2 separate regions of the Homo sapiens genome follow, and region 1 is linked to region 2. The links are contacts of gene promoters, found by promoter capture Hi-C in blood cells and fetal thymus (Javierre and others, 2016). All regions are on one chromosome and are shown on one strand. The core of a region is centred on a gene start or on the middle of the fragment in contact, and the rest is flanking DNA. Distances in the headings are between cores, read along the strand shown.

Region 1 (6,349 bases), core at 392-2,891, 180 kb before region 2:
GAAGGGCTTGGTGCAAGCCCATTCGGGGTCTGAGAGCCGATTCCCTGTTCAGGAGCCCCCTGCCCTCCTGGGCATCCTCGAAGGCGCCCCAAGGCTCCTCCAGAGAGGGCTGAGGGCTGCCTTTGCTCCTCCTTTTCAGCCAATGGTTTGTACCTGTCCTTGGCCACAAGATGTCACCCAAGGAACAGCAAAGCCGGGGCCTGGGAGGAAACTGGCCGACGGCAGACTCGCGGGGGAAGGGGTCGGGGATGGTGCGGAGAAGCCGCAGAGGCAGCGTGCTGCAGTGGCTGCAAATCTCGGGATTTCTAGCAGAACGGGGCGCTGTTGCCCTCAGAGGACGCCGATTTGTAGATGCCACCTAAAGATAATAAATTCGAAAATAATAAGTAAATAGGGACAAAAATCCCACCTTCCCAGAGTAAAATTAAACCCTGCTAGCCAGATAAAGGGCTGCAAACAGACAAGACACTTTGGTGTGATCAGGGCTGCAACCCAGGCAGGCACTGAGCTGGGCTCCAGGCATCCTCATCCCGGCCCTGTGCTTGGTGGGGTGGGAGCAGACACAGGAGAGGTGTGACCTGGTGTGGCACAGCCTCTGCCCCACCTAATTCTACCCACTGGAGATCAAGGGCTTTGGGGCACTCTGTCTTCCCAGAGGACGTGAAGAACTACCTGGCCCTGGACCACGACAGGGATAGTTCCTGTCCCAGCAGGGCCTGAATTTGGAAGGAAAAGATGGTGGAATCCCCGCCCTGAAGGGCTACTTTCTGCCTCTCATCCATCCCCATCTGCAAACATTAGGGACACCTGCCATTTGGAGGCATGCCCTCCCCTAGGAGCACAGGCTCCAGGGAGACACTGCTCTGGAGAGGGAGGGATGGGGGTGAGGCCTCACTGAGGAGGGAGGCAGGAGGGGGCACCTGGGGTTTTCCTCCAGAAGGGCCATCTGAGGCAGGAGGAAGGACTGTGGGGGAGGCAGTCAGATCTGGGCATCAGCAAAGGCTTAGAGGCCGGCAAAGGGCAGCACTTTGGGAAAGGTGATAGTTCTCAGTGGCTGGAGTGGGGCTGGCTGGAGGGGAAGGAGAAGGACCAGAGGCATGTGGCTGAAAAGGCAGGACAGAACCCAGGTAGAAAAGAGAAGATTTTAGGCAGAAGAGGAATCTGCTCAGACTTGATGAATTTTTTTGTTTGTTTGTTTTTGAGGTGGAGTTTTGCTCTTGTTGCCCGGGCTGGAGTGCAATGGCGTGATCTTGGCTCACTGCAACCTACGCCTCCCGGGTTCAAGTGATTCTCCTGCCTCAGCCTCTCGAGTAGCTGGGATTATAGGCATTCACCAACACGCCCAGCTAATTTTGTATTTTTAGTAGATACGGGGTTTCTCCATGTTGGTCAGGCTGGTCTCGAATTCCTGACCTCAGGTGATCCACCCACCTCGGCTTCCCAAATTTCTGGGATTACAGGTGTGAGCTACCGTGCCTGGCCAGACTTGATGAATTCTAAGGGCACCTAGGAGAAGGGGTGAGAGGGAGGCAGGGAGACTAGGAGTCAGTCGTGATTGTGGAGGTGGAAAAACTGGCTGTGGCAGCGGGGGACAGGTTTAAGAGACATTTCCCAGCCAGGCGCGGTGGCTCACACCTGTAATCCCAGCACTTTGGGAAGCCAAGGCGGGTAGATCACTTGAGGTCAGGAGTTCGAGACCAGCCTGGCCAACATGGTGAAACACTGTCTCTACCAAAAGCACAAAAATTAGCCAGGCATGGTGGCGTGTACCTGTAGTCCCAGCTTCTCAGGAGGCTGAGGCAGGAGAATCGCTTGAACCCAAGAGGCAGAGGTTGCAGTGAGCCGAGATTGTGCCACTGCACTCCAGCCTGGGCGACAAAGTGAGACCCTGCCACACACACACGCACAACACAAAAGAGACATTTGCCAAGGGCCCCTCAGGAGGTTTGGGCAATCCAGAGCCTGGGCCAGGGAAGAAGGCTGGGCAGCGGCAGGCATGAGTGACAAAGAGGCGTGTAGGGTGGGGCACATAGGGATGAAAGTATCTGGACCCAGAAAGGCATCATGTGTCAGGAATCACTCCACTGTGGTTACTGTTTATGACCACAGTGGAAAGGGACTTGAGCTCACAACCCAGCCTGTTAGTTGATAAACTGCCTCCTGGGTACAGTGTCCAATATTTGGGTGATGGGTAGGCTAGGAACCCAACCCCATCATTATGCATGTAATACCCATGTAACAAACAAGCACAGGTACCTCCTGAATCTAGAATAAAATAAAAAAATGGGTTCTCTTGGCTGTCCATGGTGGCATCACCCCTGCCATCAAGGGGCTGCACCCCACTGAGTACTTGCCGCCCTTGGCCAAATGCCTCAGTCAGACGCAGATACCAACCAGCAGGGACTGGCAAGAACTGTGACAGCTGCAGGGCTGGGTGCTGCTGCTCTTGCCTTTGCAGGTCGCTGTGCGTCGCAGTCCTGGAAACCTCTAGAACAAGGATCACAGAAGCAGTAGAGAACCTTTGAACTCCTAGCCTGTCATCCTATTACAAAGGAGGATTTGAACAGAAAATGAGTAGGAGAAAAGCTAGTGTTATTTTAGGTGTAAGTTCACCTGCTGGCAAGGCTAAGATTAGAGCAGCTCACAGGAGAATCGTGATTTTGAATCACCCAGATAAAGGTGGATCTCCCTACTTAGCAACCAAAATAAATGAAACAGAAGATTTGCGAGAAGCGACCACCGATCACCGATGGATGCTCAAGAACCCCGCTGAGGAAAAAAGGCAGGGCGCCTTTAAAAAATCCTGCAAATCAATCTACAACATGATCTTCTTAATTTTCATACATGCATAGACCACAATCTTTTCTTCTCCCATTAAGCTATTATAACAATAAAAGATTAATAATGTCCAGGCGCGGTAGCTCACACCGGTAATCTCAGCACTTTTGGAGGCTGAGGCAGGAGGATAGCTTAAGCCCAGGAGTTGAAGACCAGCTTAGGCAATATAGCGAGACCCCACCTATAAAAAATACAAAAAAATTAGCCAGGCGTGGCGGCATGCACCTGTAGTCCCAGCTACTCAGGAGGCTGGGGTGGGAGGATCACTTGAGCCTGGGAGGTCGAGGCTGCAGTGAGCCATGATCTTACCACTGCACTCCAGCCTGGGTGATAGAGCAAGACCCTGTCTAAAAAAAAAAAAAAAAAAGATAAATAGTAACAACCACCAAAAAGGGCTCTGAGTGTCTGCCCTGTGCACAGGTGGTCCTTGTGCTCCTGGCAAGTCCAGCGCAGGCCCTCCCTGGCAACTGCCCTGCTGACCGGTGTCAGAGGAGGCACCTTTCCAGGATTCCCTGGCCTGTCTCCTCACCCACAATATACCAGGTTAAAAAGAAGCTTGGGCCAGGCACAATGGCTCATGCCTGTAATCCTAGCACTTTGGGAGGCCAAGGCGGGCAGATCACCTGAGGTCAGGAGTTCGAGACCAGCCTGGCCAACATGGTGAAACCCCCATCTCTACTAAAAATACAAAAATTAGACGGGCATGGTGGCATGTGCCTGTAATCCCAGCTACTTGGGAGTCTGAGGCAGGAGAATTGCTTGAACCTGGGAAGTGGAGGTTGCAGTGAGCCAAAATCGCGCCATAGCACTCCAGCCTGGGCAACAGAGCGAAACTCCGTCTCAAAAAACAAAAAGCAGCTTGGGGCCTGAACTTGTGTTCAGTGGCAAGACTATCAAGTCCCCTCTTGAGTCAGCTCAGTGGGCAGCCTTCCTGATCAAGGGTTCCGGACACCCCCGTGCTCCTGGCAGCCTCCACTGTGTCCCTGCACTTTAACCACCCCCTCCATTAAAGGCCAGTACAGGAGAAATAGTTCAAGATTTTATGTAGATGGTAAAACTGCAGGGGATCCGTGAGGTAATAAAGCCCAAATCAGGAAACGCCTTCAAAGGAGTTGCCACTTGCCTTAGGTCTGGTTAGAGACAGAGCTCAGATTAGATCCATCTTCCAGTTCCTGAGCCTAGCAACATAACCAAACACCGCTGGGAACCTGTGGCTTTTCAGTAATGGCGGGAGTGGCCCAGGGAGGGAAAGGACTAGTTCAGGCTCATTGGTATGGCCCACTTAGCTGTGGAGGGGCTTGTGGCAGGGGCATCCCTGAGGACGCTGCGACAATCGGATGGCCCTGAGCACTTCCTGTCATCTGTCCCCTTCCATTGCACTCTTCTCCTCACAGCATGCTGCCCCAAAGCAGCAGCAGCAGATGCAGCCTCTGCTGTCACCGCCACAGCCACACGAAAAGGAAAATAGGGTCGCCAGTGATCAAAATGTAAAGGGACCTAGGGGAGGGAACCCAGGCATGGAAGTCCACACATCAAATGTGGGAGGAGAAGTAGAAGAGGAGAAATTCTTTTACTTTCAGCAGAGGCAGCACTGGGGAAACAAAAGTGAAGTCAGAGGTCAAGGGCTGTGGGAACCAATGCAGTTATTTTACATGGGACACCAGTTATGAATGGTCACAAAACAATCAAAATGAAACAACTGGCTGGGCGCGGTGGCTCACGCCTGTAATCCCAGCACTTTGGGAGGCCAAGGCAGGAGATGACTTGAGGTCAGGAGTTTGAGACCAGCTTGGCCAACATGGTGAAACCCCAGTCTCTACTAAAAATACAAAAATTAGCCAGGCATGGTAGCACATGCCTGTAATCCCAGCTACTCGGGAGGCTGAGGTGGGAGAATCACTTGAACCCAGGAGGCAGAGCGTGCAGTGAGCCGAAATCGCACCACTGCACTCCAGCCTGGGTGACAGAGTGAGACTCCATCTCAAACAAAAAACCCAAAAACAAAACAAACAAACAAACAAAAAAACATTTTAAAAGCTTAAACACAGAAAGATTAGACTCTAAGAATTTTTCATACATAAATTTGGGTATGTCATTGAACACCATGATTCTCTGGAAATGTTTAGCAATTTGAGGCTAAGGAAACAGCGTTACATAACAGGCAGTTATGAGTAAAGAAAATGCTTCATTCTAAGCATATAAAAAGAGCTATCCTTAAAGGAATCATTGGATTGGCTGTAGGCTAACAATTCTCATTCTTTTAAAGGGGCTTCCCCATTCATGCTTATTACCCTTGTGAGCTATGAAGCCAAGTGTTTAGGAGTTAACCACTTTCACAGTGGATCATACATTTTCATGAGTTTCAGTGAGATGGGGAGCTTGCTAGAAATGCAGATTCCTGGCATCTTCCCCAGAAATTGATTCAATGGGTATGGGGTGGGATCATGAGTCTGTGGTTTTATGAACCTCCCCAGGTGGGCGATGAGGGTAGGCGGGCCACTGGTTCATTCTTCATCAAGTGCAAGCTCTCCTGGTGCTTCTCAAACTCTCTTGGAGAGGCTGGGCATGGCAGTTCACACCTGTAATCCCAGTACTTTGGGAAGCTGAGACAGGAGGATCGCTTGAGCCTGGGAGTTCAAGACCAGAGAGGGCAACATAGCAAGCAAGACCCCATCTCTGAAAAACTTTTTTGAAATTAGCCAGGTGTTGTGGCATGCACCTGTGGTCCCAGCTACTCAGGAGGCTGAGGCAGGAAGATCACTTGAGCCCAGGAGTTTGAGACCACAGTGAGCTAGGATCATGCCACTGCACTCCAGCCTGGGTGACAGGGTGACACCCTGTCTCAAAAACAAAAACTCTCTGGAAAATAAAAGTCACTGGGAGGACTTGTTCAAAGATTCCTGGTTCCCTCCCCTATGGACTCTTATATACCAACAAGAATACCAGGTGATTCTCAACAGGGAAGTTTGGGAAACAGTTTATATAGTATAACTCCCTAGAGCACCAAATCCTGGGCCCCATCCCCAAAGATGATCTAGTTGGTCAGGGTGGGTCACAGCATATATTTCGACCAGCAATACGCTGAATTCCTAAACAGCTAACAGAAATAAGATTACCATGGTTTTCACATTCATTGTTTACAACAGGTCCAAGGACTTGGAACTGAGAGCTGTTTCCGCTTTAGCATAAAATGTGGACGGTGTTCTGGATCTCCACAATAGCCTATATGGTTCTTTGGTCATATATATTTTTTCTTTTTTTAGAGACAAGATCTCGCCCTGTAACCCAGACTGGAATGCAGTGGCCCAATCTGCAGCCTGGAACTCCTGGGCTCAAGCCATCCTCCCACCTCAGCCTCCCAAGTAGCTGGGACTACAGGGATGTGCCACCATGCCTGGCTTATTTAAATTTTTTTTTTTTTTTTTTTTGTACAGACCAGGTCTCATTGTTTCCCAGGCTGGCCTCAAATTCCTGAGCTCAAGTGATCCTCCCGCCTTCGTTTCCCAAAGTG
Region 2 (6,502 bases), core at 3,223-5,722:
TTCTAAAAAAAAAAAAAAAGAAAAATATCTAAACAAGAACAGCATCTTCTTCCATTTGAATTTTTTTCTCCAAGAAATTCTGAGCAGATTATCCCTTTACCTTTTTTTCCTTTTTTTTTTTTGAGACAGGGTCTCACTCTGTTGCCTAGGCTGGAGTGCAGTGGCACAACTTTGGCTCACTGCAACCTCCGCCTCTGGGGCTCAAGCAATCCTCCCGCCTCAGCCTCTTGAGTAGCTGGGACTACAGGCACATGCCAGCATGCCCGGCTAATTTTTATATTTTTTGTAGAGATGGGGTTTTGCCATGTTTCCCAGGCTGGTCTCGAACTCCTGGGCCCAAGCAATCTGCCCACCTCAGCCTCCCAAAGTGCTGGGATTACAGGCATGAGTCATTGCACCTGTCCTGCCTTTTTTTCCTCCCCTCCCCTCCCTCTCTCTCTTTCTCTCTTTCTTTCTTTTTGATGGAGTCTCGCTTTGTCACCCAGTCTGGAGTGCAGTGGCGCAATGTCGGCTCAATGCAACCTCTGCCTCCCGGGTTCAAGCGATTCTCCTGCCTCAGCCTTCCCAGTAGGTGGGATTACAGGCATGCACCACCATGCCTGGCTAATTTTTGTATTTTTAGTAGAGACGGGGTTTCACCATGTTGACCAGGCCTGTCTTGAACTCCTGACCTCAAGTGATCTGCCCGCCTGGGCCTCCCAAAGTGCTGTGATTACAGGCGTGAGCCACCATGCCCAGCCTCCTACATTTTTTTTTCTGAAGTCTTACATGTTACACCTTCAGAAATGCCTTTCCTGCCCACCTAATACTCAGAGTTAACACTCATATTGCACTCACTCTGTGCTAGACAATGTTTTTTTGTCTTTGTTTTTTGTTTTGAGACAGAGTCTCACTGTCACCCTGATGTAGTACAGTGACACAATCACAGCTCACTGCAGCCTTGGCCTCCTGGGCTCAAGTGATCCTCCCACATCAGTCTTTAGAGTAGCTGGGTCTACAGGTATGTGCCAGCACCAAACCTGGCTAATTTTAATTTTTTTTTTTTTTTGGTAGAGATGAGGTCTCACTATGTTGCCCAGTCTGGTCTTGAACTCCTTGGCTCAAGTGATCCTCCTGCCTTGGCCTCTCAAAGTGTTGGAATCACAAGTATGAGCCACTGTGCCCGGCCCAGACATTGTTTTAAGCCATTTTCATATACCAACTCTGTTAAACCTTTGTACAAGCCTATGAGGTAAGTAGTATTCTTACAATCTCCAGAGGAGGTAAGCATTATTATTATCTCCATATTGGAGCTGAGAAAACTGGAGTACAGAAAGGATAAATAACTTCTCCAAACCAAAATCACACAATAAGTGGTAGAGCCTGTATTTGAACTCTGCCCACATGGTGCTAGAAGCTACATCCTGTACTTTACCTCCTCTGTGTTATCAACCTAAAGTAGGCCTCTTTTTTTTGAGACGGAGTCTCGCTCTGTTGTCCAGGCTGGAGTGCAGTGGTGCGATCTCGGCTCACTGCAACCTCTGCCTCCCAGGTTCAAGTGATTCTCCTGCTTCAGTCTCCTGAGTAGCTGGGATCACAGGCACGTGCCACCACACCAGGCTAAGTTTTTCTTTTTCTTTCTTTCTTTTTTTCTTTTTCTTTTTTTTAAGACGGAGCCTTGCATTGTCACCCGGGCTGGAGTGCAATGACGCTATCTCAGCTCACTGCAACCGCAACCTCCATCTCCCAGGTTCACGCAATTCTCCTGCCTCAGCCTCCCAAGTAGCTGAGATTACAGGCACACACCACCATACCCGGCTAATTTTTTGTATTTTTAGTAGAGACAGGGTTTCACTATATTGACCAGGCTGGTCTCAAACTCCTGACCTCATGATCCGTCCGCCTCGGCCTCCCAAAGTGCTGGGATTACAGGCGTGTGCCACCATGCTGGGCCCTTTTTTTTCCCCCAAAGGACACAAGTACAGGTAAGAAAATGTAGTTTTTTGTTTTTTTTTTTTTTTTAGACAGGGTCTCACTTTCTCTCCCAGGCTAGAGTGCAGTGGTGGGATCTCAGCTGGTCAGGAACTCCTGACCTCAAAAAGACCTGCCCGCCTCGGTCTCCCAAAATGCTGGGATTACAGGCGTGAGCCACTGTGCCCAGCCAAAGGTAGACCTCGTCTACTCCATTTTTCTTGCTTATAGTACCTCCTATTTTCCCTTTTGAGTACTAATCACAATTTGCAATTAAATATTTGCTCACTGCCAGGTATGGTGGCTTACACGTATAATCCCAGCACTTTGGGAGGCCAAAGCAGCGGAATAGCTTGAGGCCAGGAATTTAAAACCAGCCTCAGCAAGACCTCACCTCAACAATTTTTTTTTTTTTTCTGTTGGCCAGGCTGGAGTGCAGTGGCACGACCTCAGCTCCCTGTAACCCCCACCTCAAAGCAATTTTCATGCCTCAGACTCCGGAGTAGCTGGGATTACAGGCATGTGCTACAATGCCCAGCTAATTTTTGTATTTTTAGTAGAGATCAGGTTTCACCATGTTGGCCAGGATGGTCTTGAATTCCTAGCCTCAAGATATCTGCTCACCTTGGCTTCACTACTGGGATTACAAGTTTGAGCCACTGCACCCGGCCTCAACAAAAACAAAAATTTTAATTACCTCACCCTATGCATCTCTTCATTTGTATCCTTTGTAATATCCTTTATATTAATAATAAACCAGTAAATGTAAATAAATAAATAAATACTGTTTGTCTCTTCCCAGCAGATTGTAAGCCTGATTAGGGCAGGGATCATATCTGTTTTATTCACATCATAAGCACTGTGTAACCTCTGGTTTCTTTTCTCTTTGAGATGGAGTTTCACTCTGTGGCCCAGGCTGGAGTACAGTGGCGCCATCTCAGCTCACTGCAACCTCTGCCTCAAGCAATTCAAGTGATCCTCCTGCCTCAGCCTCCCCAGTATTTTGTATTTTTAGTAGAGATGGGGTTTCGGCATGTTGGCCAGGCTGGTCTTGAACTCCTGACGTCAGGTGATCTGCCTGCCTTGGCCTCCCAAAGTGCTGAGATTACAGGCATTAGCCACCGCGGCCTGGCCAATAGGCACTATGTAACTATTAGTTTAATGAATGAAGAAATGAATGCTTGTGGGCATCATTCATTCTGCAACAAACTTCTAAAAATTAATTTTACTTTGAAACAATTTCATACTTTCAGAGGAGTTACAAGAATAATACAAAGAAGTTCACCCAGATATCTCATTCAGGGTTAGCCAATTGTCCACAAAATATACTTTAGAGAGCAAGAGGATTAATTCCAGGGTCTCTTGAGCAACAAATATTTATTGAGCGCCTGCTACTATTGGATTACATAACAGTCTCTTAACTGGTCTCTTAGCTATAGGCATTGCACCCCCACCCCTAGTCCCATACAGCAGCTCCTTTTACTAATTTATTTTTGAGGAGGATCTCGCTCTGTCGCCCAAGCTGGAGTGCAGTGCCGCGATCTCAGCTCACTGCAACCTCCGCCTCCCAACTCAAGCGGTTCTCCTGCCTCAGCCTCCAGAGTAGCTGGGACCACAAGCACGCACTACCGCGCCAGGCTAATTTTGGTACTTTTTGTAGCTACAGATAGAATAGAGATCTTTGTCTATTTTGTTCACGAAGTACTGCAAGCGCCTTGAGCTGTACCTGGCACATCTTTGTTGCTCAGCAAAGAGTGGTTGGATAAACGAACGCTGAAGGTATGCTAGTACCAGGTACTGTTCTCGGTGCTGGAGTTACAGCAAAAAACTCCCTGCCCTCGTGGGATTCTCACTGGAAGCATGCTTAAGCTTAAGCCATTTTTCAATCTTGACCCCACCATTTTGTTCCCTGTGAGATTTGGGGTGAACTGCAGTTTCCTAGCCTCACTTTCCTATCAATCGTTACGAAGATTAAAAGGAAAAATATCATTTGTATCGCATTTAGCATCAGAAATGCTTTAATAATATTCGTTTCCCTTCCTTTCAGGCTGGAAGACTGGGGCCTGACATCTCTGCCACAGGCTTAGGCGAGGTTTTCACAGGGACTTGGAAAGGTGCAAACGGTTACTACGGCCAGGCTTACCCAATTGTTAAGTGAAGATATTCTGGAGAGTGCTTAAAAGGGTTGGAAAAACAAACCAGTGAGTGGCTAGGACCACCTACTCCGCTGTTTTGCCTCGGAAAAGCCTCGCCGGCTGCCGGGAGGTGAAAGTCTGGAGGAACGGGAGGAAAAGAGAGGGGTGGCTGTCCACAACAGAAAACTACACATCCCAGCACCCCCGCGGCAGACGACTACGGGTCCCAGCAGGTTTCGCGGGGTGGACCGAAGCGGGCTCTCTTGGGGCCTGCAGTCGGGGTTCAGCCAGAGGGGGCGCCGGGCGTACCGACGTAGCGGGGAGAAACGGGTCGCGCTTTAACGGCGCTGCGCAGGCGCCACTCACGGGCCGGACGTGACGCAGGGAAAGTTCCGGCTTCGGCCTCCGCCGCTGCCGCCGCCGCTGCTACAGCCGCCGCCGCCGCTGTTGCCGCGGCTTGTTATTCTTAAAATGGCGCCGCTAGACCTGGACAAGTATGTGGAAATAGCGCGGCTGTGCAAGTACCTGCCAGAGAACGACCTGAAGGTGAGCCCTATTTGCGGGCTCGCCCCTTCCGGCTGTGGGGCGCCCGCCGGCCGGCCCTTCCTTTCTCCAGGACCCCCGCCGGGTATCCAGTCCAGTCGCGGTGGAGGGCCTCCCCCATTGCCAGTCGACCCGGTCCTACCCGGCGTCACGCCGAGGGTCTCGCGAGCCGAGTCGTCGAATGCTGTCCCGGTTGCCTCAGTGGGGATCCCGAGGGATGTCGCGGCCTCTGTCCCAGGGTCGCCCCTTCTGGCCTTCGGGCTGCCCCAGGACCCGCAGCTGTAACAGCTTTATTTAGAAGGCTCGGCTCCCCACCCCATCCCTGGGTCTCCCGCAGTCGGAGCCGAGCCCCCGCGGCAGTGCCCTCGGGATGGGGTCGCCTCCACCGGAGGTGACAGGAGCGCGGAGTGGCCGGCGTCTGACAGGAGATGCCACCGGCTACCGGAACGCGGCCTCAGTGTGTTTAGGTCTCTGAGGAAGGGGAAGGCGGTGGGCCCGAGTGGTTTGGTACTGGCGGGAGCGAACGTCAGGTCGTCCCTCTTCATTGCCACTCCTCCAAATTGCTTTTTAGGATCGTCGGTTTTGCTAATTCAGAGGTGAATCCCGTTTCTGAGTATGTTGTTGAGCTTACTGAAGTGGATAAAGTAGTTGGTTCTCAATAAATACAAATACTTTCTCCTTAACCCCTTCTTAACTCAGTATTTCATTTTCTTCGTTTTCTAAAGGAGGTGAGTTCCTTGTTACTCCTGAGTCCAAGTAAGAGTAAATGTATGTATGGGTAAAGGAATGACTTTGGTATACTGCTTTTCTTTTTTAAAACTTTTTAATTATTATTATTATTATTATTATTATTGTTTTTAACTGAGATAGAGTCTCACTCTGTCACCCAGGCTGGAGTGCAGCGGTGCGATCTTGGCTCACTGCAACCTCCACTTCCCGGGTTCAAGCGATTCTCCTGCCTCAGCCTCCCGACTAGGTGGAATTACAGGCGCCCGTCACGACGCCCGGCTGTTTTGTATTTTTAGTAGAGACGGGGTTTCGCCATGTTGGCCAGGCTGGTCTTGAACTCCTGACCTCAAGTGATCCGCCCGCTTCGGCCTACCAAAGTGCTGGTATTACAGGCGTGAGCCACCGCGCCGGCCTAGGTATACTGCTTCTTTGAAAAGTGTTTCTATGCATTTGCTGAAATCAGAGCTTAGGTTTCTAGCAGTGCTTATCAGCTCGTGCTAGTATTTAACCGACTCAGTGTATTCTTTTTTTTTGAGACGGAGTCTCGCTCTGTCGCCCAGGCCGGAGTGCGGTGGCACCATCTCGGCTCACTGCAACCTCCGCCTCCCGGGTTCACGCCATTCTCCTGCCTCAGTCTCCCGAGTAGCTGGGACTACAGGTGCCCGCCACCACGCCTGGCTAATTTTTTGTATTTTTAGTAGAGACGGGGTTTCACCGTGTTAGCCAGGATGGTCTCGATCTCCTGAACTCGTGATCCGCCCGCCTCGGCCTCCCAAAGTGCTGGGATTACAGGCGTAAGCCACCGTGCCCAGCCCCGACTCAGTGTATTCTTAAGGAAATATATTACTGTGGGTTTTGTTTTATTTCTTCTTTGTACAGTAAGTTGATACTTAACATCAGTCAACAAGTATGCATAATATTTGAGGCCACACGTGCTGTTGTGAATGTGACTGAATTGTACTTACCTGTTAATTTTATGTGGCATATGATAGGGGAGTCATTCTTGTGCATTTTCCCGTTTTTAATAGAATAATTTCAAATAAGGACAGCCTTCGTTAGTAGTAATGTAGCATTTGTGCTCATCTGAGTCCTTCAGACATTCCTTTTGTGGCTTCTTTCTGCTATGTGGTTTTTTTAAGGGAATA

The links. The method cuts DNA at HindIII sites, captures the fragments that hold promoters and counts their contacts. A CHiCAGO score of 5 or more calls a contact.
Region 1: a fragment that was not itself captured here is called in contact with the fragment with the promoter of PPP6C in region 2 in 2 of 17 cell types (endothelial precursors and megakaryocytes); the score reaches 5.5 in endothelial precursors.

The regions. Positions count from the first base shown.
Region 1 is chr9:125,368,723-125,375,071 of GRCh38, reverse strand. No RefSeq gene overlaps it. Among named protein-coding and RNA genes, the nearest start is that of GAPVD1, 110 kb to the right of the region's middle. RefSeq lists an enhancer at 3,494-3,994. The HindIII fragment of the contact is 3,508 bases long and covers 1-3,395 here.
Region 2 is chr9:125,187,773-125,194,274 of GRCh38, reverse strand. It overlaps PPP6C (protein phosphatase 6 catalytic subunit), which reads left to right and starts at 4,472. Exons shown (of 7, transcript NM_002721.5): 1 at 4,472-4,631. The coding sequence starts at 4,557. RefSeq lists enhancers at 4,195-4,274, 3,577-4,363, 4,364-5,150. The HindIII fragment of the contact is 2,825 bases long and covers 3,822-6,502 here.